Regions from separate parts of the Homo sapiens genome. Here regions 1, 2 and 3 are each linked to region 4. Evidence: promoter capture Hi-C in 16 types of primary human blood cells and fetal thymus (Javierre and others, 2016). All regions are on one chromosome and are shown on one strand. Each heading gives the region's core, a stretch centred on a gene start or on the middle of the fragment in contact. The rest is flanking DNA. Distances are from core to core; before and after follow the strand shown.

The links. Contacts are between HindIII fragments. The CHiCAGO score rates a contact against its expected background, and 5 or more counts as called.
Region 1: a contact is called between a fragment that was not itself captured here and the fragment with the promoter of STAMBP in region 4, in 1 of 17 cell types (megakaryocytes). The highest score is 6.3, in megakaryocytes.
Region 2: a fragment that was not itself captured here is called in contact with the fragment with the promoter of STAMBP in region 4 in 6 of 17 cell types (M1 macrophages, M0 macrophages, monocytes and 3 more); the score reaches 8.1 in M1 macrophages.
Region 3: a contact is called between a fragment that was not itself captured here and the fragment with the promoter of STAMBP in region 4, in 15 of 17 cell types (monocytes, M1 macrophages, M2 macrophages and 12 more). The highest score is 10.9, in monocytes.

Annotation. Positions count from the first base shown.
Region 1 is chr2:73,678,912-73,684,681 of GRCh38, forward strand. It overlaps the pseudogene ALMS1P1. Among named protein-coding and RNA genes, the nearest start is that of NAT8, 39 kb to the left of the region's middle. The HindIII fragment of the contact is 317 bases long and covers 3,944-4,260 here.
Region 2 is chr2:74,017,728-74,023,596 of GRCh38, forward strand. All of the region lies in intron 3 of TET3 (tet methylcytosine dioxygenase 3), which reads left to right. Among named protein-coding and RNA genes, the nearest start is that of TET3, 36 kb to the left of the region's middle. RefSeq lists a silencer at 3,334-3,413 and enhancers at 3,594-3,643, 3,595-4,094. The HindIII fragment of the contact is 1,716 bases long and covers 1,054-2,769 here.
Region 3 is chr2:74,057,749-74,063,421 of GRCh38, forward strand. The region is part of intron 4 of TET3 (tet methylcytosine dioxygenase 3); the gene reads left to right. Among named protein-coding and RNA genes, the nearest start is that of TET3, 76 kb to the left of the region's middle. The HindIII fragment of the contact is 6,470 bases long and covers 169-5,673 here.
Region 4 is chr2:73,825,283-73,830,675 of GRCh38, forward strand. STAMBP (STAM binding protein) reads left to right here and starts at 3,679. Exons shown (of 10, transcript NM_213622.4): 1 at 3,679-4,228. LOC105374807 (a long non-coding RNA gene) reads right to left here and starts at 5,116. Exons shown (of 3, transcript XR_940246.3): 1 at 5,034-5,116; 2 at 3,475-3,622. RefSeq lists a silencer at 3,450-3,668 and an enhancer at 5,176-5,393. The HindIII fragment of the contact is 5,447 bases long and covers 2,818-5,393 here.

The sequences.
Region 1 (5,770 bases), core at 2,852-5,351, 150 kb before region 4:
ACTCTGCTCATGTAAAGTCTACATCACTGTATTTTGGTTCCAGGAATTCCCACCCAAACTGCCCCATTCTAAATTAGGCCTCTTCAAATCAATAACAGTTCTTCTGTGACTGCTGGAATATGGAAGCCCAATATTTTAGGGATTACCACAGACTAAGGAGAAGGGAATCCAGACTTCACATGCATTCAGGCCACAAAGAAACACAAGTATTGGCAAAAGTGACAAGCATTCAGCCTACAGATATACCAGACAGGGACAAAGTCTTAAAGATGAGAGTCCTCGTCTTTATATTAGGGCTTCCCCTGTTAAAATGGATGGAGACATCTCTCAACTCCTAGACCTGAAGGGGAGTCCTGCCCATTCCCAACAGTCCTGGATCCCTTGAGCTAGGTCCTAAACCTGACAACCCAGAGTCCTAATAATCAAAACCAAAACCACTCTTTTAGTCAGTTCACAGAACCACCACCACTTACTGCCTCAAAATTGCACCAAATGAAAGGTCCAAGCAGCCACTTCTGCTTTCCTGGTGGGCTGGGGGGATGGGGTTGGCATGCCTGAGGCCCTTCACCAATCTCCCTCTTGGCAACTTAACCCACTCATGCTTCCTCAGACTGCTGCTTCGCCTGTAAGCAGCCTATAAGGGAGGTCGAGTCAGGGCTCAGTCCATAGTCCCATCTGGATCAACCAGATTTGTTTCCCAGGCCCTCCCACCCCACTGCCTCCAAAAAAAAAGCGGGGTTTGTTTGCCTGGTGAGTAACAAAAGTCGCTGAGAACACAGACTTTGATCAATAGGAGTTTTATTACTTGTCACAAGTAGGAAGAGCTCTGGGAATATTCGTCAAAGCAGTGTCTCCTAAGAGAAAATGACAGGAAGGCTTTATAGAGTGATCGAGAGGGGAGAAGGTGCATCATCACATGAAGAGGAGGGGTCCCAGTGACACAGATGGAGGGAGTCATCGTGCCACCACATAGGACGCATGCTATGGTAATGAAACTATAGCTCTCCCAGGGTGCAGGATTTAGCATTGTAATGAGGAAAGTTCACTGTAAGTGAGTTCATCTATAAGTTGCTGGGGTCTGTCAGGAGCAGGTTCCAACTGACTAGGTGACCACATTTCACACAGGGTTTGAGACAAAACCGTCTGCAAGGCAGAAGGCTGTAAAACGGGCTAATTGCTCAAATTCATTAAATTCCTTCACTCCCTGGGGGCCCGCCCTGTCTTGTCTATATAGCCAGTCCTTAGGAAGTGAGGCCAAGCTGAACTGTTGACACAGTCTATGTCTTTACGAGTCTGGGAGCTGGGTGATTTTACCTCTGATGCTAGACTTATTTTTACTGGTTTTGAAGCCTTGCTTACAGCCCTTTCCCAGTTTCTCACGAAATACTCATGAAAGGGGATGGTGGGGAGTGGGCATGGGGAAAAGGGAATGATATTAAAATTAAAGCTAACATCATTGGCCTCTAGGGGGCACTCATGGCTCATCTCCATAGCCCTTGGCTCTTGCAGCTGCCCAAGATGAGAGTCCTGATCTAAGGAAACTCCACCACCACCAAGGCTGGGGTGGTGGCAATGGGGGCATTATTTTCCAAACCTGACTAGGCTACATTTTAAGGGGATCATAGTCACAGAGAACATAGATGTGGACTATTAATTTTCTTTGCCTGAGCAGCCGTAGCCCTATGTGCTCCTCTCCAGCCTTTCAGGGAGCTATGATGGGCCAAAAAATGCTCAGTAGCCCAAGCCATCTCCTCCATAGACACTGGAGTAAAATCTCTGCCTATGGGTGTGTGTGTCTTGTCTTACTCTATCCTGGATTTGTTTCCTCCAATGCTGGTGGCTTTACTTTAGATAGTCTGATTGTTGCAGAGATGAGACCCAAGGCTCCACTCTGGAGAAAATAGAGCCCTCTTGAGAGGTCAGCCCAACTTGCTAGACTTCTGCATGGGGCTTGGGGTTCAATGTTCCAGCCTGTCCCCAAAAAGTCATGGCCAAATTCACATATTCCTTTGATCCCTGATGGTGTCTCATCACACAGTTCGTCTGGCCTCACCATTGCTCCACTAAGTCCAGGAACCTCAAGGAACTATGAGACAGGTAGGGCTAGACTTAACAAAATGGCTATCACAGTCTTCATTTCATGAGACAGAGGTGAACTGAGAAAAGGTGGAAGGTGCTTCAGAGACTTCTCTGTATTCATCCCTAACTTAGGCAGAGAGCCTTGGCCACACAGGAAACTGGGGAAGACCCCTCTCTTACTCAGGAGTCCCCCACACTGGTGCCATCTTATGACAGGCAGGCATCAGCTTCAGAGCCAGTCAAACAGTTAGGAATAGCAAACATTGCTCCAGAATTTGTTGGGGTTTTTTTTCCCCTGAATTTGATAGTAAGCTCCACATAGGCAAGAATGACAACCATCTTGTTCTCCTTGTTTCTCTGGAGTCTAACACAACATGTAGCACGTGGTTGGCCCAATAAGAATTTGTCGAATGGGGGCCAGATGTGGTGGCTCATGCCTGTAATCCCAGCACTTTGGGAGGCTGAGGTGGGAGAGTCGTTTGAGGCCTGGAGTTCAAGATCAACCTGTTCAACATAGTGAGACCCCTATCTTCTTTTTTTTTTTTTTTTTTTTAAAGTGGAGTTTGTTGAATGGCACACAGAAAATAAACAATCCAAATGACAGATCAGAGGTGCTGGAAAAGACCAGGGAGATCTAATCGTTAAATCACGTCATCTAAATATTAAGAGGAGACATTTGGACATCTGATAGAATTTGGCATTGAATAAGTGATAAATACACAGAAAACTGAACAACGGCAAAAAGAAAAGTATCAGTTCTAAGGGAAAAGATACAAATCAAAAGCCTTCAGGAAAGGATAAGTCATCATGGCTTACTGTATAGCTTAGCTTAAAATAACACAGAATAGTGAAGTAGCCCAAAGGGCCATCTAACCACACTGGGAAGCTGAGCAGGGGAGGAGTGCGTATATGCATGGAGGAGACTTGTCTTCACCCTCCTCAGCAGCTGACAGCAGGCAGGCTAGACCTGGACAATGGAGCAGGAGTCACACAGCCTGTGAAAGAAGTGCTGGGGAATGTAGGGGCTGCTGTTTCACATGACAGAGCCATTGAACCCTGGCTGTTTATAATAGTTACATACATAATTTTAATAGAAATAAAAACCAAAAAGAAAAAAGACTTAAACATGAAAGGCAAAACCATTACAATTTTTAGAGGAAAATATAAGAGAGTAAGAACAGAAAAATGTCTTAAGGCACAAAGTGCTAACCATAAAGAAAAAGATTGATAAATTCATCTTGATAAATTTTTTGTTTATCAAAAGGCACCATAAAGACAGTGAAAAGACAAGGCACAAAATGGGAGAAGATAATTGCAGCACATCTGACCAGCAAAGAATTTGTATCCAGAATATATAAAGAACTTCTATGAGTCGGTTTTTTAAAAACACAATTTATATTTAAGTCTCTTTAAAACAAATAGACAATTCATAGAAATATGGTGATATGGTTTGGCTGTGTCCCCACCCAAATCTCATCTTGAATTGTAGCTTCCATAATTTCCACATGTTGTGGGAGGGACCCAGTGGGAGGTAATTGAATCATGGGGGCAGATTTTTCCCATGTTCTTGTGTTAGTGAATAAGTCTCATGAGAGCTGATGGTTTTATAAAGAGCAGTGCCCCTGCACACCCTCTCTTGCCTACCACCACATAAGATGTGCCTTTGCTCCTCCTTCACGTTCTGCTGTGATTGGTCCGCATCCAAATGTCATCTTGAATTGTAGCTCCCATAATCCTCATGTGTTGTGGGAGGGACCTGGTGGGAGGTAATTGAATCATGGGGGCAGATTTTTCCCATTTTCTTGTGATAGTGAATAAGTCTCATGAGAGCTGAGGGTTTTATAAAAGGCAGTTCCCTTGCACAAGCTTTCTTGCCTACCATCATGTAAGATATGCCTTTTTCATTATAAGTTACCCAGTCTTGGATATTTCTTCACAGTGGTATGAAAATGGACTAATACACATGGGCTAAACTCATGAGCAGGCAACTTTATAGAAAAACACAAATAGCCCATAAACATAAAATGTAGATTGAGTTCATTATTAATTAGGGTAATGCATGTTATGGATAGAATAAAATACCTTTTTACATTCACTGGATTGGCACAAAGTTTTGTCTTTGTGCCACTCTAAATGTTGACAGGGATGTTGATCAACTGGAATTCACACACTGCTTGAGGAAGCTTGCATTCACTCTATAATTCAGCATTCTGAAAAGTGCTCACCAATAATCAGCCCAGGAAGGTTCACAAGGACATCTTCACCAAATATGTCCTTTCACCCTAGCAAAGAACTAGAAACAACTCAAGTGTCTTTTGACAAGAGAATGAGTAAATGGCAAGTGGTATGTCACGCAAAAGAATTCTAGACAGAAGAGAAAATTAAGGAACATCAAACTTAGTGAATCTTTGAGACGATGTTGAGTAGGAAAAAAAATTCAGAAGAATATATTGTATGATACTTTTATCATAAGGTTTAAAAGCAAGCCAAGGTAAACATGTGCAGGGACACCTAGGGACCCATGTCATTTTAGGATCAAACAGATAGATGGACAGATGATAGATAGACAGACAGATGGATTTTTTTAACTCAAAATAGTGGTTACATCCTTAGGGAGCTGGGATTGGAGAAGAGACACTTAGCTTTGAAAGTATTGTCAAATATAGTGACCTTTCTAGTTCATTTGGGTGCTGGGTTCAGGGGTATTCATTTTATTATGCACCATAATTTATGTGAGACATTTTATTATATCAAATATTTTCTAATCTTACAGTAAGCAGTTTGGTAAACAGATTCATAACTGCATATAATGTGTAGGTCTTGTGAACAATGCTGCTGTGAATATCAGGACCCAACTGCACTTGTCTCTCACTGCCTTTTGTAAGCCTGCTCAATTGGGGAGTTCTTCCCCTTATACTGGAGATGAGAACTCAGGTAATGCCTCGACTGTTCGGATCACTGTCAGGGGATTACATGTTCTACCGTGCTGACTTTTCACTGAAAGCCCAGTCTCCACTCAATAAGTAAAAGTGTAATAATCGAAACTCCCAATTTGAGTTCCACTTAAAATCTTCTCTCTTCCCCTGCCAGACCTCTCTGCACCATCTAGGGGAGCATAGTCCCCTCTGTCCCTGCCTGACAGGGCTCTCCTCCTCAGCAGCACAGGGAGGTGTCTGACCCATCTGTGTGTGTGTGTCTATGTGGTGGGGATGGGGACCATAGCTTGGCATCCTGCCCTCTCACCCTGGCAGTTCATTGTCTCAAGCTGACTTTCTTGGGTGTTTTCATGGCTTCTTCTGAGGCCTCCCTCTGGAATATTGGATCGTAACTCCAGCAATGCAAGCAATAGGTTTTCCTCCAGCTTCTGGTCCTCCTCCTCCTCCTCCTCCTCCCCAAACCTGGTTTCTAGCAGTCACTCCACTGAGACTCAGAGTCTTCTTGGCCCAGTGCCAGCCTCTTGCATGTCCCAAACCTTGTCCTCAGGAAACACTTATGCATCCTATGCTGGGGTGAACTCTTAAGAGTGCAGGATCACCTCATGGCCACAGCCTAGCTAGGCCCTGAAACCCACACTCTGGGTTTGTCAGACGTGAGTCAGCCCCAGGCCACTGAACCTCTCCCACTGCAGGGAATCCCTGTCAAGTGGTGAAAGCCAGCATCTAGACCTGGAGTCACAGGCACCTGTAGCATA
Region 2 (5,869 bases), core at 662-3,161, 190 kb after region 4:
ATTTCAATTCTTTTGGACGTATATCCAGAAGTGAGATTGCTGGATCATACGGTAGTTCTAGTTTTAGTTTTTTTGAGAAACCTCCATGCTGTTTTCCGTAATGGCTGTACTAATTTACATTCCCACCAACAGTCTGTAAGAGTTCCCCTTTCTCCGCATCCTCACCATCATTTATTTTTTGTCTTTTTCTTAACAGCCTTTTTAACTGGGATAAGATGAAACCTCTTCTGTCTCTTTTTTTTTTTTTTTTTTTTTTTGAGACGGAGTTTTGCTCTTGTCGCCCAGGCTGCAGTGCAGTAGCACAATCTCGGCTCACTGCAACCTCCTCCTCCCGGATTCAAGCAATTCTCCTGCCTCAGCCTCCCGAGTAGCTGGGATTACAGGCATGTGCCACCGTGCCCGACTAATTTTGTATTTTTAGTAGAGACGGGGCTTCTCCATGTTTGTCAGGCTGTTTTCGAACTCGCGCCCTCAAGTGATCGGCCTGCCTTGGCCTCCCAGAGTGCTGGGATTACAGGTGTGAGCCACCGTGCCTGGCCTTCTTCTGTCATCTTAAGTGAGAAAACATAGTATAGCTTTCATCGTTATGAGGGTTTTGATACTAACTTCTGTTACGTTTTGAAAAAAATTTTGGCCTGTTTGTCTTTCATTGTGTCTATCATAAAAATTTGATTTTTATACAACGAGAATTCATCAGTATTTTGGCTTTTCTTACTTAAGTTTTATTTTAGATGTTCAGATTTCTAAGGTGAGATTTATTTTTGCATGCGATATAAGATAGGGATTGAACTTTTCCTAAATAGAAAGCCTGTTATCCCCAATCTATTTATTGGGTATTTGTAGTTTCCCTTGTAGTGTATGAATTCTACCTTAAGCATTTCATAAGTACTCTTACAGTCATGGGTGTTTTAAGGCCTCTTTTTACTTCCATTGACTTATTTGTCTGATTCTGTGTATTTCATTGTTTTAATTACCACCATTTTTATATAATACTTTGGTTTAAAACATACTTCTTACTTTTTTTTTTTTTTTTGGCATTTCTTTCTCCAAATAAGCTTATAAACAACTTACCATGTTCTGCGAAAAATACTGGGATTTTTCAGTTGGAATCACATGAAACGTACAGGTTATTTTGGGGAGAATAGATAGCTTTACAATGAATCTTCCTATCCAGAGAAAGGGAAGTAGACCTTTCCGTTTATTCTAGTCTTTTTTGTGTGTTCATCAAAGTTTTAAGGCCAGGTGTGGTGGCTCATGCCCCATAATGCCAGTGCTTTGGGAGGCTGAGGCGGGAAGACTGCCTGAAGCCAGGAGTTTGAGATCAGCCAGGGTAACATAGTGAGACCCCCCGCCAACCCTCATCTCTACAAAAAATAAAAACTAGCTGGGTGTGGTGGCGCATGCCTGTAGTCCCAGCTACTTGGGAGGCAGATGTGGGAGGATCGCTGTAGCCCAGGAGTTGGAGGCTGCGGTGAGCTATGATCTGGCCACTGCACTCCAGTCTGGGCGACAGAAGGAGACTCTGTCTCTAATAAAAACCAAACAAACAAAATAAATGAAACGTTTTAAGGTTTTCTTCTTACACATTTCTTGTGAAGTTTCTTCCTAGATATGCTGTAGCTGCTGTTGTTGCTGTTGGGAATGGGATCTTTTCTGTTATACTTTGTATCCCATCTTTGCCCGCATATTAGAAATGCAGCTGCTCTGTGCTGCCTCTTCTGACACTTCTGTCCCTTTCTCCCTCAAGTCCTCATGGTATATTGTCTGTACCTCCGTGGCAATACTGTGTGCCTGAGTGTGAGTTCCCAGTGGTGGGGTGCTCATCTCACTCCATTTCATGTCACCAGTACCTGGCACAAAGCCTAGCATGCGGTAAATCCTTTTAATAAACGCCGTGGCATCAGATTGATGAGAGGGACAGTGAGCTTCACCTCTTCAAAGTGTGACAGCCTGGGCCAATGTGAGCAGCAGAATCTCAAGCAGCCCTGGCTCCAGGCCCTGCAGGCTGTGATCTGGATAACAGATTGGGCACCCTCCTTGTCCCCGCAGGAAAAAGGAGGTCCTGGGCCATTTTTCCACGTGCAGACATCAGGGAGGAGCCCTCTGAGCCTCTATCTCATTATTATCCTGAGACCCACAGCCCCCTTGTTGTTAGCCCTCATTAGTGCTAACTAGTTGGGAGAACTGCTTTCTTAGCTTCCAATCATTTCAAGGTAGCACAAACAAACTTATCTGCAGCTTCCCTTAGGGGATGAGGACTCATCAAGGCTGGAAGCAGAGCTTGTACAGAACATTGTGAGATGGGTTCACACCTATGTGCCCAGTCACCTTCTCTCATATGGTAGTGCCTTTCTTTTTTCTTCTACTATTCTCCTCCAGAGTATATGCATCCCCCCAACCCAGTATGTCCTACGTGAAGTTTATTCCTATCCGTGTGCTAATCTTTACCATAGCGTTTGCATTTGTTTTTCCCTTGAGACAGAGTCTCACTCTGTCACCAAACCTGGAATGCAGTGGCATGATCTTAGCTTACTGCAATCTCTGCCTCTGGGTTCAAGTGATCCTCCCACCTCAGCCTCCCTAGTAGTTGGGACTACAGGTGCATACCACCACACCCAGCTATTCTTTGTATTTTTTTAGAGATGGGGTTTCACCATATTGCCCAGGCTGGTCTTGATTTCTGGGGCATAAGTGGTCTGCCTGCCCAAAGTGTTGGGATTACAGGCATGAGCCACAGTGCCCAGGCTTGGTGTTTGCATTTTATATGTAAGCTTTTGTTTGTAATTGGGGAATGGCAGGCACTATTCCTTGATGGAGCTGTCTGGGGCATGCCAATTCACTCTGTACCCTTGGCAGTGGTTCCAGACTCTCAGGTCCCTGCCCCCACTGGTCTCTGCTGCCCCTGGAGCAAGGATGGTGATGTCTACCTGCCTTGGAGGGACCCAGGAACAAGGGAACTCCCACCTCTTGTTCAAGGGCTTGAGGGCTATGCCCTTGGAGAGAAGGGAATCCCTGCTGTTGTTAAGCAGGGGTCAGGATTTCTGCCTCTCAACATGCATAAAAAGAAGGTGGGAGTGAGGACGTGAGCTGATTTCTAATCCCTCTCTAGCAGTTGTGCATCTGGTTCAGCGTGTCCCGGGGTTTCCCTGGGTTTTGCTTGACCGCAGCAGTAAGCTGTTCCTCATTTATCCCGTGGTCTGTGCTCACCCTCCCCTTCCCACTCACTCATCTCCCATGCTCAGGGTGGCAGAGGACATAGAAATGCTTCTCTGGCTCCTCTGCTGGTTTGTTTTAATCCCTGGGAAACATTGGAACCAAGAGGACACTCAAGAAATACTGGATTGGGGAAAAGATCTGGAAGTATTGCTCTATCTGCCCCTATCCCCTGCTGTTGGTTTCTTACTTCATCTCCCAGTGCCCACCTGGGGCCTCTGAGTCTCCCCAGCCAGGTGGCCCTGAGGCTCCCCATGAGGCCCCAGCTGCATCCACAGCTGCATCTCTGCCAGCTCTGGAGGAGCTGCTTTCTCAGGGTGCTGAGCAGAGACTCTGACAGATGGACCTCCATGAACCGATGGAGCTGTTCCAGATGCCTCCTTACAGAGCAGAGCGCATTCTGGCAGTGAGGCCACGATGCAGGGCTGCCTAGGGCTTTAGCCCACCCGTTGGACAAAGTCTGTTTCTACACTGCCACCTCCATCCATGTTTTGGCGTTTCAGAGAGCATCAGCACTGACCACTGAATGGCCAGGCCTGCATGTGCATATGGGAGGTGGGAAGAGACTACTGTCCCTGGTCAGCCTGTAAGAACCTCAGTTCACCTGGTTTCTGAACCAGCCGAGGCCTTCCCCTCATCTGCACTCACCCTCAACCCCATAGGATTATGGGAAGGGGTTCTCAAAAGGTCGTTCAGGGGCCACCTGGGTCAGAATCCCTTCCATGGTCAGGCAGCGTTGATCTCTGGTGGGACCTGGGAATCTGCATCCATAACCAGCTTCCTACAGGTGATTCCCACGCCCAATGGAGTTTGAGAACTGCTGGCCTGTGAACTAATGTTAACAAAAGAGGCTGCCTGTTTGGGGCTTCCAGTACTTGATCAGGACTGAAAAGATATGCCTTTAAATGCCATGATGGTTTGTGAAAAGGCCAGGTGCTATGCAAACACTTGTGAAAACACAGGAAGACATTTCAGATATGATCAAACTCTAGGAAATAGTTAAAACTTTTTTTTGCCATTGTCTATTACAAAGAATAAAAATTCACTGTAGAAAAATCAGAAAGTTCAGATAAGCAGATAGAGAAAAATAAAAAAGTCCATAATTTTTCTACTCAGAGAGAACTCCTGTTACTATTTCAGTCTTTCTAGGACACTTTTTTTTTTTTTTTTTTTTTTTCCATTTTAAATGTTTCTGGTCTTTTCCCTCTGGGATTGTCAAAATAATACATGTTTATTGTAAAACTATTTCTTTTCTGATTGGCATAAAAATGAGTGCAAAATGTTTGATTTGCAAATCTTTCCTTGCTATGTTTAGTTGTGATCTTTTTTCTTTGTGAATATATTTTTATTTCCTTTATTTTTTGTGTATGCTTTTTTTATGAATGGTAAGACAGCTTCATGTATTAGTGGTATTAACTCTTTATCATGCTTTGGCAAGTATTGCAAATTTCTTTTAATGTATGTTTGGGGGGTTTTTTGTTTGTTTTTTGTTTTTTTGTTTCTTGAGACAGAGTCTCACTCTGTTGCCCCGGCTGGAGGGTTTTTTTTTGTTTGTTTTGTTTTTTGCCAAACTTTTTTTTTTTTACATGCTTGTGTGATCAAATCTAGCTCCAGTAGTTAATCGGTTTATTATTTTTTTTTCTTTTGGTTGTGCCAGACAGAACACAGAACAGGCACTGCTTTTGCAAATTAAGAGGAATTGAGGGGCAATTAGGCAGGTATAGGCCAGACCAGTGCTTCTCCACTTTATCTTCTTCATCCAGATAACCTGGGATTCTTACTACAATGCATTTTCAAATTCAGTGAGTCTGAGATGAGGCTGAGAGTCTGCTTTTTATTTTTTTTATTTTTTTGAGATAAGAGTCTTGCTCTGTCGCCTAGGCTGGAGTGCAGTGGCATGATCTTGGCTCACCGCAACCTCCACCTCCCAGTTCAAGCGATTCTCATGCCTCAGCCTCCCAAGTAGCTGGGACTACAGGCACTCGCCATCACGCCTGGCTAATTTTTGTATTTTTTGTGGAGATGGGGTTTCACCAAATTGACCAGGCTGGTCTTGAACTCCTGACCTCAAGTGATCTGTTGACCTCTGCCTCCCAAAGTGCTGGGATTACAAACGTGAGCCACTGCGCACGGCCTTATTCTGCATTTTTTAACCTCTGAGGTCATGTTGATGCTGCTGTTCCTTGGACCACATTTTTGAGTAGCAAGGGGCCAGGAGTTTCCAAACCTGGGTGACCATCAGAGGTACCTCATCAGCATTGATATTAATTAATTTTCAGATATGTAGTTTGATTTATTTTTATTTTTATTTAATTTCGAGACAAGGTCTTGCTGTGTCACGTAGGCTGGAGTGCAGCGGTGCTGCGATCATGGCTCACTGCAGCCTCCACCTCCTGGGCACAATCACTCCTCCTGCCTCAGCCTCCTGAGTAGCTGGGACTACAGGTGTGCGCCATCACACCCAGCTAATTTTTCTATTTTTCGTAATGATGGGGTCTCACTGTGTTGCCTGAGCTGGTCTTAAACTCCTGGACTCAAGTGATCGTCCTCCCTCGGCCTCCCAAAGTGCTGAGATTACAGGTGTGAGCCACAGCGCACAGTTTAGTTATGATTTTCAGGAGCATTTTGGAACTCAGAGTTTTTCTGCACCTTAATC
Region 3 (5,673 bases), core at 2,154-4,653, 230 kb after region 4:
TGTCAAGGGGGAGAAACTAGAGATCAGCTTCTCCTGTGAGAAGATTGATTAACAAATAAACAAAATCAACATGGTAGCCATTCAAATTCTGTAGGAAAAGTGGAGGGATTAATATAACATTTAATAAGAAAATTTATAATTCTTTGTACATTTTCATTAGTGTTAACAAGCTTAGTTGCAAACAAATACTTAAGCTAAAAAAAGAAAATTTACATGAGAAAATACAGGAATTGTTTAAACCGCTGATTTATATCTTCAGGGAAGTTGAAGAAAACAGTCGCTATCAAATAAAAAATGAAAGATGAGGTGCTAAGTTATAAAGAAGTTGTGAGAGTTATGGATTAAATTCCAGAAGAAGCATGCCATTACAAAGCACATAAAAAGTGCATTGAGAAGCTACAAAAAGCAGAATCAGAGTTAACAGAAAAAGCAGATCGGTGAGGAAGAGGCATGGTCTTGAAAGTTCACCCCAAAACGGGAAAATGTAGAAATGAACAGTATCACTGTGGCAGACAGCGAGGGAAGCAGAAGAGAGGGACAGTAGGGACCCCACACACAGATTCATTCTGGTGGGAATCTTGGGAACACTCGGTGTTCTCGGCGAACAGTGTGGAGCAAACTGAACAAACGTGAGAGTCAAAGGTGGAATAGAAAACATTTTTGAAGTGAAAAGGTGTTATAAGTTATCATGTCCCAGGGAAAATGAGGGAAATTTGACAAATAACAATGCCGATTAACTTATTAAATTTCAAGGGTGAAGAATCACCTACAAGTTTAAAAAAAAAAAAAGTTGGTCACCTATATTAGGTTTTTGTAGACAAATTTTTTTTAATTTTTAAATTTTTTTCTTTTTTAAAAGCACTTTCAAAAAACATTTTGTATTGAAATACACATACAGGAAGATATGTAAATCACAAGTGTACAGCTCAATACAGTTTTATAAAAGACACACTCATGTAAACAGCAGAACAGAATTTTACCAGCATCTCAGAAGCCTCCGAAGTCCACCCCTCCAGGCACGTGGCACCCAATCCCCTAAAGCATAGGCTGGCAGCCTGCAGACCAAACCTGGCCCACACTCATGTATAAAAGGGGTTTTTATGTTTTTAAATGGTTGAAAAAAAAAGTCAGTTGAAGAATAACATTTCACGACTCATGAAAATATCAGAGTCTGTAAAGTTTTATGAAAACATGACCAGGCTCATTTGTTGATCCGTTGTCTATAGCCACTTTTGCACTACAGCAGCACAGTTGAGTAGTTGCCCCTGAGATTGCAGAGCCTAAGATGTGTGCTGTCTGGTGCTTAACAGAGTAAGTTTGCTGACCCCTGTCCTAAGGTAACTATTCTATTCTAACTTCTTACCACACTGATCAGTTTTGCCTGTTCTTGAACTTCATACAATGGAATCATGAATATGTATCATATGCTCTTTCATATTTTGGCTTTTGCTCAATGATGTGTTTGTGAGATTCATCTATATTGTGTTTTTATTTTATTTATTTAATTTTTATTTATTTTTTTGAGACGGAGTCTCGCTGTGTTGACCAGGCTGGAACATAGTGATGCAATATCGGCTTACTGCAACCTTCGCCTCCCCGGTTCAGGTGATTCTCCTGGCTCAGACTCCAGAGTAGCTGGGACTACAGGCATGCGCCACCACACCTGGCTAACTTTTGTATTTTTTTAGTAGAGACAGGGTTTCGCCAGGTTGGCCAGGCTGGTCTGGAACTCCTGACCTGAGGTGATCTGCCTGCCTTGGCCTCCCAAAGTGCTAGGATTACAGGTGTGAGCCACCATGCCTGACCTATTTATTTATTTTTAGAGAGACAGGATATCACTGTTGTCCAGGCCAGAGTACAGTGATGTGATCATAGCTCACTGCAACCATGAACTCCTTGGCTCAAGTGATCCCCACACCTCCCAAGTAGCTGGGACTACAGGCACATGCCACTGTGCCTGGCTAATTTGTAAATTTTTTTTTAGAGACAAGGTCTCTCTTTGTTGCCCAGGCTAGTCTCCCACCTTGGCCTCTCAGCATGCTGGGATTGCAGGTGTGAGCCACCATGCCTGGCCCTGTGTTATCTGTATGTATGTACATTTGTTATCTGCCCCGTCGTTCATTCTCATAGCTGTACAGCATTCCATTTTTTGAATACACCACAGTGTATCCAGTAGGTCACTGATGGTCTTTTGGGTTGTTTCCAACTTGGGGTTATTATGAATCATGCTGATATAAGACATTCTTATACCTGTCTCTTGGTGCATTTATGTATACATGTGTATACTTAGGTATTTACCTAGGACTGAAATTGTGTGTGTTGAGCTTTAGTAGGTACCATTGGTCTTTCAAAGTGGTTGTTACAGTTTAAGCTCCCACCAGCATTGCTCCACGTTCTCACCAGCAAATGGTGCCATCCAGTCTTTGCCATTGTGGTAGATGTATAATAGTATCTCACTGTGGGTTTAATTTGAATTTCCCTGATGCCTAATGAGGGTGAGCAGTTTTTCATATGCCGTCTTTTGTGGAGTTCCTGTTCAAGTCATTTCTGTTCAAGTTCCGGTTCAAGTCATTCAAGTTGCTGTTCAAGCCCATTTCTGTATTGTTTTTCTTATTGAGTGGTAAGGGTTCTTTATTTTGGATATATGGGTTCTTAGCTGGATACGTGTATTGCAGTTCTCAGAGTAGAGTATTGAGATTAAAAAGTTTGATCCAAGTTCGACTTACTTAAGTCACCATCCATATGTAAAGTCTTCATAAAAACATTTTTTTTTAAATTTATTATTATTTTTTTTTATTGATCATTCTTGGGTGTTTCTCGCAGAGGGGGATTTGGCAGGGTCATAGGACAATAGTGGAGGGAAGGTCAGCAGATAAACAAGTGAACAAAGGTCTCTGGTTTTCCTAGGCAGAGGACCCTGCGGCCTTCCGCAGTGTTTGTGTCCCTGGGTACTTGAGATTAGGGAGTGGTGATGACTCTTAGCGAGCATGCTGCCTTCAAGCATCTGTTTAACAAAGCACATCTTGCACCGCCCTTAATCCATTTAACCCTGAGTGGACATAGCACATGTTTCAGAGAGCACAGGGTTGGGGGTAAGGTCACAGATCAACAGGATAAGTATTTTTCTTAGTACAGAACAAAGTGAAAAGTCTCCCATGTCTACCTCTTTCTACACAGACACAGCAACCATCCGATTTCTCAATCTTTTCCCCACCTTTCCCCCCTTTCTATTCCACAAAACCGCCACTGTCATCATGGCCCGTTCTCAATGAGCTGTTGGGCACACCTCCCAGACGGGGTGGTGGCCGGGCAGAGGGGCTCCTCACTTCCCAGTAGGGGCGGCCGGGCAGAGGCGCCCCTCACCTACCGGACGGGGCGGCCGGCCGGGCGGGGGGCTGACCCCCCCCACTTCCCTCCCGGACGGGGCGGCCGGCCGGGCGGGGGGCTGACCCCCCCACCTCCCTCCCGGACGGGGTGGCTGGCCGGGCGGGGGGCTGACCCCCCCACTTCCCTCCCGGATGGGGCGGCTGGCCAGGCAGAGGGGCTCCTCACTTCCCAGTAGGGGCGGCCGGGCAGAGGCGCCCCTCACCTCCCGGACGGGGCGGCTGGCCGGGTGGGGGGCTGACCCCCCCACCTCCCTCCCGGACGGGGCGGCTGGCAGGGCGGGGGGCTGACCCCCCCACCTCCCTCCCGGACGGGGCGGCTGGCAGGGCGGGGGACTGACCCCCCCACCTCCTTCCCGGACGGGGCGGCTGGCTGGGCAGAGGGGCTCCTCACTTCCCAGTAGGGGCGGCCGGGCAGAGGCGCCCCTCACCTCCCGGACGGGGCGGCTGGCCGGGCGGGGGGCTGACCCCCCCCACCTCCCTCCCAGACGGGGTGGCTGTCAGGCAGAGACGCTCCTCACTTCCCAGACGGGGTGGCTGCCGGGCGGAGGGGCTCCTCACTTCTCAGACGGGGCAGCTGCCGGGCGGAGGGGCTCCTCACTTCTCAGACGGGGCGGCCGGGCAGAGACGCTCCTCACCTCCCAGACGGGGTCGCGGCCGGGTAGAGGCGCTCCTCACATCTCAGACGATGGGCGGCCGGGCAGAGACGCTCCTCACTTCCTACATGGGATGGCGGCCGGGAAGAGGCGCTCCTCACTTCCTAGATGGGATGGCGGCCGGGCAGAGATGCTCCTCACTTTCCAGACTGGGCAGCCAGGCAGAGGGGCTCCTCACGTCCCAGACAATGGGCGACCAGGCAGAGACGCTCCTCACTTCCCAGACGGGGTGGCGGCCGGGCAGAGGCTGCAGTCTCGGCACTTTGGGAGGCCAAGGCAGGTGGCTGGGAGGTGGAGGTTGTAGCGAGCCGAGAGCACGCCACTGCACTCCAGCCTGGGCACCATTGAGCACTGAGTGAACCAGACTCCGTCTGCAATCCCGGCACCTCGGGAGGCCGAGGCTGGCGGATCACTCGCGGTTAGGAGCTGGAGACCAGCCCGGCCAACACAGCGAAACCCCGTCTCCACCAAAAAAAATCCATAAAAACATTTTTAAATATGCAAGAACTCAAATTTTCTAGAGATGAATCAAAATAATAATAGATGGGGAAGTTGTAGTATGGAGAGGCTGGCGATGAACACTAAATCTGTTCAAATGTAAAGTCTAACTTTAAATGACAGTTATTTTTCTAAAACAAAAGATATTTACTTAAACTCTACTTAAGATATATTTTTATGTTAAACATCTTAACATGTAGCAGAGGGAAATATGTTCCTGAGGATACCAGTGAAAAGCAGAAGTAAAGGAGGAGGTGGGAGAAATTATAGAGGTGCTAACTTTTCTCTTTAGAAGTACCGTTAGCATTTTTAAAAACATACTATAGATTTTCCAGATTACCAGGGATGGTGCTGATGGGGGAAATAGAAAATACAAAATCTGCAGCAAACGAGGAAGACAAGGAAGCACTAAACATGGAAAACATAAAATGCCGGAAATATATGTTATAACAATGAATGTAAGTAGGGTAAAGATTGAATTTAAGATTGAATAGCATTAAACAGCACCAAGAAGGTTAGTAAACCTTGTTTCACTGTGAGAAAAAAGAGAACCGTATGCTGAAGGATCTAAATACTTGGTTAAGTTCAGGTGAAACTTTTTTTTTTTTTTTTTTTTGAGACAGAGTATCACTCTGTCACCCAGGCTGGAGTGCAGTGGCGCGATCTCGTCTCATTGCAACTTCCGCCTCCTGGGTTCAAGCCATACTCCTGCCTCAGACTCCCGAGTAGCTGGGGTTACAGGCGTGCACCACCACGCCTGGCTAATTTTTGTATTTTTAGCAGAGATGAGGTTTCACCATGTTGACCAGGCTGGTCTCTAACTCCTGACCTCAAGTGATCTACCCACCTCAGCTTCCCAAAGTGTTGGGATTACAGGCCTGAGCCACCATGCCTGGCCTGAAACTTTTTTTTTTTTTAATGGAGTATGCCAGGCTTCTCATGTAAGATCACTTTGAGAAGTCTAATTGTCCCACCGTTGGTGAAGCCCAGGTGTCACTAGGTTAAGGTGGTAAGAGCAAGAGCCAGGTCTTGCCATTATAAAGTTATGTTTTCCCCTTTGTGTCCAGCAAATAATTTGTCAGGCAATACTTCACCACCATGTGATTATCCAGTTCCCCATCAATCTTTAGTCATAT
Region 4 (5,393 bases), core at 2,429-4,928:
GGATCTTAACTTTCTGGAAATTATATTCTAGTGGGGAATGAAAGACAATAAGCAACCCAAATCATATCAGACAGTGGTAAGGATTATCAAGACAATTAAAATAAGACCAACTAATGAAGGATGACTGGGTGGCTCCTTAGAATGGGTGGTCAGAGAAGTTCTCCTTGAGGAGGTAACATGTAAACTGAGAAATGAATGATGAGGCAGAGCCAGCCAAGTGAAGATGAGGGTAAAAGCATCCCAGGAAAAGGAGTCAGCTATGCAAAGGTCTTGAGTGGAAAAGCAGATGTTTGGATGGTGTCGGTGGAGAGTATTAAGCAAGGAGATTGGGAGATGAAGTCAGAAAGGCAACAGGGGCCGAGTCACTCTGTAATCCCCAGTAAGGAGTGTGGATGTTTATTCCAAGTGCCATGGGAATTCACTGAAGAGTTTTAAGCCGAGGAGTGATGGAATCTGATTTTTGCTTTAAAAAGATCATTAGTGGCCAGGCGTGATGGCTCACACCTGTAATCCCAGCACTTTGGGAGGCTGAGGTGGGTGGATCACTTGAGGTCAGGAGTTCAAGACCAGCGTGGCCAACATGGCAAAACCCTGTCTCTACTAAAAAATACAAAAATTAGCCAAGTTTGGTGGCGAGCACCTATAATCCCAGCTACTCAGGAGGTTGAGGCAGGGAGAATTGCTTGAACCTGGGAGGTGGAGGTTGCAGCCGAGATTGTGCCACTGCACTCCAGCCTGGGTGACAGAGCAAGACTTCATCTCAAAAAAAAAAAAAATTAGCTGCTGTTGTAAGAATGCATTGTAGTAGGTAAGAATGAACGCCCTTCCTGTACTAATGCAATTGTCCCTCTAGGTATGTCACTTAACACAAGAGTACCAACCTTGCAAGTGAAATACACCTAGAGTCTTCCTTGTTTTTACCCTCCCTGACCCCCGAACTCCGCTGGGTCTGTATTTTTCCTTTTCTTCTTTTTGCTTTTTAGCAATAGGAGTCTCACTATGTTGCCCAGGCTGGAATGCAGTGGCTATTCACAGGTGAGATCATAGCACACCACAGCCTTAAACTCCTGGGCTCAAGTGATCCTCCTGGGTTTTTTGTTTGTTTTGTTTTGTTTTGTTTTTTTAGAGGTCTCACTCTGTTGCCCAGGCTGGAGAGCAGTGGTGTAATCATAGCTCACTATATCCTCGAACTCCTGGGCTCAAGCGATCCTCCTGTCTCAGCCTTCCAAAGTGCTGGGATTACAGGCGTGAGCCAGCGCACCTGGTCCAGGCCTGTGTTTTCTAAACCCCGATGTTACATTTCAGATTAAGAACTTCACCTTCTAGGCATCTTTTGCTGCTGCCCAAAAATGAGCAAGTAGGAATGAGCATGCAGGAGTGCAGGAGACCTGACGTTGGCATATGCAAGCGGCCAGATGGAGGCTGCTATATTCAGGAAAAGTGTTCATGGCTGGGAGTGAGCACCGGAAGGAAAGAGCATCTCAATTCCTAACCTGGTCTAGTCTGCCAGGTGAACTGCTGAAGCCTATTTGCTGAAGGAATACCTTCCACGCTTAGCCTCCAATCTTTAGGGCAGGGGTAGGTAGGATATTCTCATCAGTTATGCCAAGAATCTTTTATAGCTTTGATTTCCTGATTGTGTATACAAAATTGTTTAGTTTTTAAACTTTTCCAGTTAAACAAGAAATGAGGAATGTAAAATTTTTACCTTGGCCAAGATTTTCTTATTTCAGGTCCCTAGAAAGCTGAGTATTGAACTTTGCCCCAGATATCAAAAACTCTGGTCAACATTTACAAATTCTCTCCCTAAAAAGACTAGATCCTGCTTCCTATATTCACTTAGCTATTACCTTAAGAACTGCTAGCAACTGGGCATATTAACTTTCTAATATCAGGAACAGCCTCTATGTGGCGCTAGCTATGTTTACGACTATGCACACCCCTTATATGTGTGTCTCAGTTATAGCTTCTTAAAGTCTTCTCATCATAATCTTAAAATCTAGGATGTTTGTAAATTTTCTTTACTTGTTAAGCTAAACATTATAAAAAAAAGAACTACTTTAGAGATTGTGCTGAATGGGAGCAGATGCCCCTCCCTACCCCACCAGCTGTACTTCTACCTGTGCTTCCACCATTAGAGTATCCACCTGCTGGGTTTGTTTGCTGATGTATCCCTAACACCTAGAACAGAACCTGGCACATAGTAGACACTCAGTAAACATTTACTGAGTGAGAGGTTGAATGGATCAGATTTTGACCTGTGTTGCCTCCTGCCAGGACCCCATCTGCACTATAATGCCCACCCAATGACCAGCATCTCCAGTGCATCAATTTCTTTAGGCCCAACCCATCATGTTTACATTCTGAAGAGAGTCAGTAGAGAGAGTTTTGAAGACACAGTAGAGTGCCCTATACAATTATCTTCCCAGATTTATCTGCAGTAGATCCATGAGAGTTGATAGTAGACCCATGCACATTAATGCTTGCTGGGGGCAGAAGGGGAGGTGATATGATGCAAGCAAGTACTTTCAACCCTAAGTCTGAAAAGTTGATGACTACACAAAATCACTTCAGGTAACTCCAACAGAAATATACACAACGGAGGTTGGGAGAAATGAGAGATCTGGAGGCTGGCTAGGTGGAGGAGGCAACACCTGAATTAGGGATTTAAGCTAGACCTTGAAGAATAGGTCATGCCATCACACTAACAAACTCACAGGGAGGCTCCCAAATTTTGGGAAAGTGTCCCCCAGAGACTTAGACTTTTAAACCAAAGCCTAATGTTTCACAAAGTCTTCTGAGACAGAATGATTAGCAAGCTTGTAGGACCTTTTTGTAAAGAGGATGTATATGGATTCGTACAGACACACATCTACATGCAGAACGTGCCATTCTGTATTTGATGCATAAAACCACCTTGTCCCGGTCTCAGGGCAGGAACAGTGTCATACAGATTTTTGTGTCTCCACTGCTTTTGCATAGCGGCTCTTAGAGATTAAACGCTTTTTTTCCAAATATTTTATAGGTTTTTTGACATTAAAACGTTAGTCTCATCTGGGTGCGGTGGCACACGCCAGTAATCCCAGTACTTTGGGAGGCAGAGGCAAGAAGATCGCTTGAGCCCTGAAGTTGGAGACCACAGTGAGCTATGATCACACCACTGCACTCCTGTGACAGCCTGGGTGACACCGCAAGACCCTGTCTTAAAAAAAAAAAAAGTTAGACTTATGTTCTTTTCTAAGCAATAAAATTAGTCTTAGATATTGCCTAATATCTAAGACTACCAATTTTTGTGTAGAATGTAATACAAGCTAAAAAATACATTCGAAAGACTTTCTGTCCCCCAATTTATAAATCCTGGTTAGTTTAGCTAAGTCTGCAGTTGTGCTGGGATCAGCAATCCCTCCTTAAATGCAGGAGTATTGTGAGTGTGATGAGGGACTACCCCAAATCAAAATAATTTTAAAAGCAAACCTTAGCTTGCTAATTGGTTCCACTTTCTTCCTTGTTCCTTTTCCTTTACCAAGATGGCCGCTGTGTCGTTCGCTCCTCATTGGTCGGATTTTCCGCAGGTGCCGATTCTAGCCCCACCTACTAGCTCTCCGTTCCAAGTCCTAAATCACTGGGAATGTAATAGACAGACGAACGGGAGTGGGCGGAGCGGGCGCCGGATGTGACGTTTCCGGAACCTCCGGGTGTCATCCGCGGGGAAAGGTGGGGAAGGGTCCCGGGAACGTGGTGGGGCAGGGCCTCCGAGCGTGGTTGGACTTTGAAGGGGATCGGCCGCCGTGAGTGTGGGGCCTGCAGCCTACTCTCCCCGAGTCCCCTGCCCGGCCTGCCTCGCTCGAGGCACCCGACGGCTTCTGTCTCCGCGGGCTGGCGCCTGACCAGCCAGGCCCAGCGGTTCCCCGCCTACTGCATTTGAAAGATCCCGAAAACCCTGGATGATTGTGCCTGGGGTTGGCAAGTTCGTCTTGAGTGCCTTCAAGAAGGGTTCCTCAAGCAGTTGTCGATAGAGCCCTCCCTACTGTATACGCCCCCTCCGCTCATTCCTGCTACTTCCTTTCTCCTCCTCGTATTTCCCCCTCGGTCCTTTACGCCGCCTTTCCCCCTCATTTGCAGATGCTGCATCCCCTTTTTGGAATTGCTCAACCAGGTGGTAACCGGCGCCGCTTCCTGGCCTTGGGAGGTGGTTCCTTTCTTAACCCACAAGAACCTCTCCCAAGAGGTACTGAGATGCAACAAGCATCCTCTGTTTCAGTTAACTTTCATGGGCCGTGGACTAGGTTTACTAATTACTTGGGGAGGTTTTAGATATGCTTGCGGCTTTCTGAGTCCCTAAGGAGGCCTCGTGAGAGATGGACTATCTCTGCATCCCTAGTAGTCCTCACGGCTTTTGTGCTATTAGTGAGGGTGTTTTAGAGGGGAAGGTTTGTGGAGGAATTGTGACCCGAATATTGAAGAGACCTAAAGATGGAATTGGCTGAGAGAAGACTACCCCTGAGGGAAGAGTTGTAGTAGAAAAGAAAAACTGGATAGATAAATGAAACTGAAATGTGAGGATGCCTGGGCGGATTGGAATCCTGACTGAAGCAAAAGATCTCTGTTGGGGAGGGCCAGTTGCCACAGGGCCTTGAATTCCAAGATTTATTCTACTGTAGTTTGTGTATTCTAGAGCATACTGATTAGGGTTTGCTGTAATGCAATGTGTGTCAAATGCCCAGTTTTATTTTGGAGATGATAGTGGTGATATCTGGTTGGAATTTGGAATCTGATTCTAACAGCAACTATATCTAGAAAGACTAGAATTACTGGAGTTTTGGGACACCAGGGGTTTTTGCAATGCAAGTTACCATCGTGCCTTTTTGTTATTCAGTGTTTAGTCTATGAAGATGAGTAAATGGTTGTTTTCAAGATTTAAGTCTCTTGCCATGATAATGATGAATGAATGATTTTATAGATTGACTATAGTGGTTTAGTGAGCAGAGTTACAATTATGAGCATTAATTCCCAGACCAGTTCCCCTAACTCACCTTGTGCTCAAATATGAAAAAGGATACCACAGAAAATGTCAGTTACTCTCAGATTAAGTAAAAATGGTCAACCTTGAAGTTAGTTAACAATCCTCAAGAAAGTTCACTGAGTGCACTCTGCCAGGTACTGGGGTGGAGGTATGTGGGTATCTGGAAGGAGAAATAATAGAAAATAAAAGATGCTGTTCCCACTTTTACAGTGCTGTGGGCGGAGCCCCCTAATGGCAAAGGATTTGATTAACTTGAACTGAACCTTTGGTTGGTCCACTGTGGTTCTACTCCTTATACCACCTAATTATGGTACAGGGGTTGTATGTTTTCTAGTCTGCCAGTACTCTCATCGTTGTGATTTGGGCTTCC